Regions from separate parts of the Homo sapiens genome. Here region 1 is linked to region 2. The links are contacts of gene promoters, found by promoter capture Hi-C in blood cells and fetal thymus (Javierre and others, 2016). All regions are on one chromosome and are shown on one strand. The core of a region is centred on a gene start or on the middle of the fragment in contact, and the rest is flanking DNA. Distances in the headings are between cores, read along the strand shown.

Region 1 (2,700 bases), core at 84-2,583, 1.2 Mb before region 2:
TTGTACTCTCACCCAGGCTGGAGTGCAGTGGTACAATCTTGGCTCACTGCTGCCTCCACCTCCTAGGTTCAAGTTATTCTCCTGCCTCAGCCTTCTGAGTAGCTGGGATTACAGGTGCACACCACTGCACTTGGCTAATTTTTGTATTTTTAGTAAAGACAGGGTTTAGGCCGGGCTCGGTGGCTCACGCCTGTAATCCCAGCACTTTGGGAGGCCGAGGCGGGCAGATCATGAGGTCAGGAAATCGAGACCATCCTGGCTAACAGGGTGAAACCTTGTCTCTACTAAAAATACAAAAAATTAGCTGGGTGTGGTGGCGGGCGCCTGTAGTCCCAGCTACTCAGGAGGCTGAGGCAGGAGAATGGCGTGAACCTGGGAGGCGGAGCTTGCAGTGAGCCGAGATTGGGCCACTGCACTCCAACCTGGGTGACAGAGAGAGACACTGTCTCAAAAAAAAAGAAAAAAAAAAAAAGACAGGGTTTCACCATGTTGGCTGGGTTGGTCTCGAACTCCTGACCTCAGGTGATCCGCCCGCCTCAGCCTCCCGAAGTGCTGGGATTACAGCCATGAGCCACTGTCCCCAGCCTAATTTTTTATGATCTTTTGCAGAGATGGGCGGGGGAGGGTCTTGCTATGTGCCCCATGCTGGTCTTGAACTTCTGGGCTCAAGCAGTCCACCCACCTCAGCTTCCCAAAGTGCTAGGATTACAGGCATGAGCCACTGCACCTGGCTGAATGCTGAATTATTAGCTCAGCCCTAGGGGCAGGGCTTTCTCTGAATTATCTCTGTAGAACAATCATTTTCAACTGGGGACAGTTTTGACATTAGACAATGTCTGGTGAGGTTTTCTTGTCACACCGGGTGTAGGGGAGTGGTTGTTATTGGCATCTAGTGAGTAGAGGATAGGGATTCTGCTAAACATCCTACAATTCACAAGACAGGTCCCTACAACAAAGAATTATCTCACCCAAAATGTCAATTGTGCCCCTGTTGAGAAATCCTAGCTGTAGAGGGTGATGGGAAAATGCTTTGAATTAGAAACATTTGGGAGCTGGCAGACTGCCGACAATCTCTGTAGTAGCACTTGGCAGAGAGCTGCATTCCCACCTAAGGACTGCGTGTTATAAATAGCTCCTCTCGGTATTGTGGCAGTTGTAGCAGTTTGAATCAATGTCAGAGGAGTTTCAATACATGGATAATAAAAATGCAAAGGAAATATATAAAGGGAGAGAATAAGAGACTAGAAGCAGCAGACGCATTGAGGTTTTCCTGCAGCTAAGGAGAAGCACGCCCTCCACGCTTGAATGCAGAGATTCTTCCTCCAAAATAGCTCTCAGATTCCTCCACTCCCTCCCCACTGCAACTTCCCTGGTCCAAGCCCCCATCCTCTGGCACCTAGACCAATACTGCCACTGGGAAGAAAAAAGAAAAAATATATATATATATATTATATATATATATATTCCATCCAATCCCCTTTCTCAAACATGAAGGGGCTGGGTTTCCTCTTGGCATGGTAGCCAGGTTCCAAGTAAGACTATTTCACCAGCAAGTGTTCCATGAAAAAGGAAGTGGAGGCTTCCTTCTACTTCCAGCAAGAACACTTGCTGGTGAAATAGTCTTACTTTCTTACTTGGAACCTGGCTACCATGCCGAGAGAAGCCCAGCCCCTTCGTGGTTTTTTTTTTTTTTTTCTGAGACGGAGTCTCGCTCTGTCACCTAGGCTGGAGTGCACTGGTGCGATCTTGGCTCACTGCAAGCTCCGCCTCTTGGGTTCACGCCATTCTCCTGCCTCAGCCTCCCTGGTAGCTGGGACTATAGGCGCCCGCCACCACGCCCGGCTAATTTTGTTTTTGTATTTTCAGTAAAGATGGGGTTTCACCGTGTTAGCCAGGATGATCTTGATCTCCTGACCTCGTGATCCACCCCCCTTCATGTTTGAGAAAGGGGATTGGATGGAATTGCTGTGGTATGGAAGATATTCTATATAAACACATATATACCTATGTTCTTCCCAGTCTACTCTGGCCTCCTCCACGCTTTTTCCCCAGAGAAGGGAGACAGATCTTACAGCATAAATTAGATGATGCATTCACTGCTTAACCTGGGAACACCAGGGGCAGCAGCTCACTCCTACAATCCCAGAACTGTGGGAGGCCAAAGCAGAAGGGTTGCTTGAGGCTAGGAGTCCAGACCAGCCTGGGCAACATAGTGGGACCCCGTTTCTACAAAAAATTTAAAAATTAGTCAGGTGTGGTGATGCTCGTCTGTAGTCCTAGGTATTCAGACTGAGAGGCTGAGGCAGGAGGATCACTTGAGCCCAGGAGTTTGAGGCTGCAATGAGCTACGATGGCATCACTGCACTCCAGCCTGGGCAACAGAGCAAGTCCCTGTCTCAAAACAAAACAAAACCCGGGAAGACTTTTTTTCCTCATTATACTAAAATAAAATACAAAATCTGTAACAGGCCCACCACATGCATTCTGGAGGGTCTGGCCTTATCCTGTCTCTGGGTGTTTCTGGAGGGCTGCATCCTGCCCTGTCCCCTGTTCCTGGAATATGTCGAGCTCAGTTCGGCCTCAGATCACTGCCCCCATAGAGTTGACAGTCTGATGGTGGAGGTGGACCTGAGTCAATCCCATCACTCAAGCACACAAAAAACTGGCCCTGGTGCCACAAGTGACAGGACCACAGTGCCA
Region 2 (2,753 bases), core at 117-2,616:
CTCCTGACCTCAGGTGATCCGCCCGCCTCGGCCTCCCAAAGTGCTGGGATTACAGGCGTGAGCCACCGCGCCCGTCCGAAAATAATTTCTTAATATCAATGCAAGTGCAAAGTTAATTTTCCTAGCTAACACCTTTCACACCCACCCCCAATAATGACACTTCATCAATTCTTTAAAAGGGAAGCTCCTTAGCTGAAAACCTGCATTCCGCCTTTCACCTTTCCTGTTTAAGTGCATGCCTTTTGTTCAAGATTATATCCAGCCAACCAGGAATACAGGAAGTTTTAATAACGCCACAAGTCATGACGTTGCAATTTGAACAAGTCAGTTCGGGACACTTGGAACTGTTAAAACTGCCTGCAAGGCACCTTCTGACCTCTATGCTTTCGGGTTTGGAAACCACACAACCTGGGGCCACTTAAGAAGCCCTTTTCTTTCTGGGCCCTAACTATACTCTTCAATATCTGAGGCCCAGTCTCCTTCAGTTTCTGCTAGATAGATGACAGGTCTACTGCTTAGAACCTGTGGGGAATGTAAAAGGGATATAAGACATAAAGCAAGGAGCCCAGACGCCGGCTTTCTGCAGCCAGATCGTAGTTACATCTGACTTGGTCTGATTAAGCTATCTGACTTTTGCAGAGAACATTCACAGGAAAGACACATTCACAGGGAAGACACATTCCCTTTCCCAGGAATGTGCCGCCGCCCGATTTTTAAGTTAGAAGACTCTAAGGGAAGTCCGGACCGCTGCCTACTTTCCGAGTGGGGCTCACAAGCGGAATAGAGTCGGGGGCACACGCAGAGTGGAGCTGGCTCTGCCACCTAATTTTTAGAGGTGGAGGAAGATATTAGAAACAAGGCCAGGGCCGCCACCTGCTTTCTAAGGAGGAACTCGGGGCACAGGTTCATTCCCAGGGCCCCCACCTGCCTCCCGCCAAGGCGCTTGAGGCGAAGCACCACCCAAGGTACTCGGGTGGGGGGCGGCGCCCCAGCCAGCCAAACCTGAGCGCTTGGTCCGAGCTCTTCGCTCCAAGACCTTCCAGCTCACTTCTGCCGTGAGTCCCGCCGCCCCCGCCATCGCGCTCCGGTCGCCGCCTTGGCCACCGCCCCCGGGGCCGCCTGTCAGCAATGCCGGGCCACGCCCCCCGCACGACACTGTCGGGAGGCGCGCCTGCCGGAAGTGAGCGTGAGGGCGGCTTTCACCCTAGCTCCACTGCTTTTTTAGCGTCGGAAGGGCAGCCCTAGTGGGAGAGAGAAAAAGGAGCCGGCAGCGGCTCTTACGCGTCCCGGGGCTGCGCGCCACTCTCTCGGCCGGTAACGCGGTGCTTTGCGGCTGTCGTCAAGCGCGGCGTTGGGCCGGCGGGCGGGGGCTGAGGGGCTGCCATGGCGGCGGCGGGCCGGCTCCCGAGCTCCTGGGCCCTCTTCTCGCCGCTCCTCGCAGGGCTTGCACTACTGGGAGTCGGGCCGGTCCCAGCGCGGGCGCTGCACAACGTCACGGCCGAGCTCTTTGGGGCCGAGGCCTGGGGCACCCTTGCGGCTTTCGGGGACCTCAACTCCGACAAGCAGACGGATCTCTTCGTGCTGCGGGAAAGTCAGTGCTTGCCGGGCCCTCCCTCTGTTCGCTGTCCGTGTGCCTCTCCCGGTGTTCCCCAAACCCATTGCCCAATGGCCGGTCCTTCTGCATTTCCTGGTCCTTCTCTCCCAGCCCTGTGGCCTTCCCTTTAGCATTCTTAACAGCTTGTCCTTTTGCACCACCCTTTCCAACCCCAGGTTCTGACCCAGCTACCCTACAGTTTGACCTACCCTCAAAAGCCCTGACAGCACCTCAGTTTTGTTCCTAAGAAGTCTGCGGCCCTCACCCAGTCACCTTACCCCCTCCTCCCCATGGAATCACCTGTTTTCCAAAGTGCTTCCTGATTCCTAGGAATCTTTGTAGCTTGCCTCAACGTTCGCTCCCAAGGCCCACTCATTCCTTTCTATTTTGCTTCAGTCTTCCTTCCCCGTTGATGAACATGAAAAGGTGCAACCTGACAATCTCTTCTCATAGGGGGCTTCTTCTTGCCTCCCCACCTACCTAATTCGCCCACCCCTTTCTTTGTCAAGGCCACAACTTTCTATGAAGCGAATGTACCCTTCCAAGGGCCTAAACACTAAACAGCTCACACAAGCATTTTGCAGGGACCACTGATAAACCCAATGCCTCCTTGGGAAAGCAGTCTCAAACTACAGAAATTTCTCTCTTGAGCTGCCTGTTCTTTCGTGTACTCCTTCCTCATCTTGGTCATCACCTTAGTGTTCCAAATGTCTACTTTCTTTGCTAACTTGTTCTTGGAAATTCTTTGCTTTGACAATCGTTAAACTAACTTTTTTGTAAATCTTGATGCTGACAGTGGGCATTAGGGGGTCTTAGGGTTCTTGAGTACCTACAGAAGCAGGTGCTGCTTAAAGATCAATGCTGTGAAGGAAGGAAGGAAGAGCTACTCAGAGCTTGCCTGACAGGATCCTGAACCAGACTTCTTGGAGCCCTTGCGGGGATGCAGGAACCTCTTACAAACCCTGAATATTTTCCCAATCTTTTTGACTCCTCATTTTGCAGTGTACTGCCAAACCTGTTGCTGCTGTGTCCAAACTGGATACAGAGAGTAGCCTTGACTTTAAAGATGGCCTGTGTTTGATTAAACAATTCCAAAAGTCTGTCTCAATGAGTGCTAATTGAGCTCCAAGAATGTGTCACCCTCTGGAGGATGGCCCCA

What was found. Contacts are between HindIII fragments. The CHiCAGO score rates a contact against its expected background, and 5 or more counts as called.
Region 1: a contact is called between a fragment that was not itself captured here and the fragment with the promoter of ITFG1 in region 2, in 1 of 17 cell types (neutrophils). The highest score is 7.8, in neutrophils.

What each region holds. Positions count from the first base shown.
Region 1 is chr16:48,616,201-48,618,900 of GRCh38, reverse strand. No RefSeq gene overlaps it. Among named protein-coding and RNA genes, the nearest start is that of N4BP1, 7.4 kb to the right of the region's middle. RefSeq lists a silencer at 909-1,203. The HindIII fragment of the contact is 5,376 bases long and covers 1-2,700 here.
Region 2 is chr16:47,459,676-47,462,428 of GRCh38, reverse strand. It overlaps ITFG1 (integrin alpha FG-GAP repeat containing 1), which reads left to right and starts at 1,366. Exons shown (of 18, transcript NM_030790.5): 1 at 1,366-1,591. The coding sequence starts at 1,384. It overlaps PHKB (phosphorylase kinase regulatory subunit beta), which reads right to left and starts at 1,098. Exons shown (of 31, transcript NM_000293.3): 1 at 1,003-1,098. The coding sequence starts at 1,078. RefSeq lists a silencer at 988-1,457. The HindIII fragment of the contact is 8,409 bases long and covers 1-2,753 here.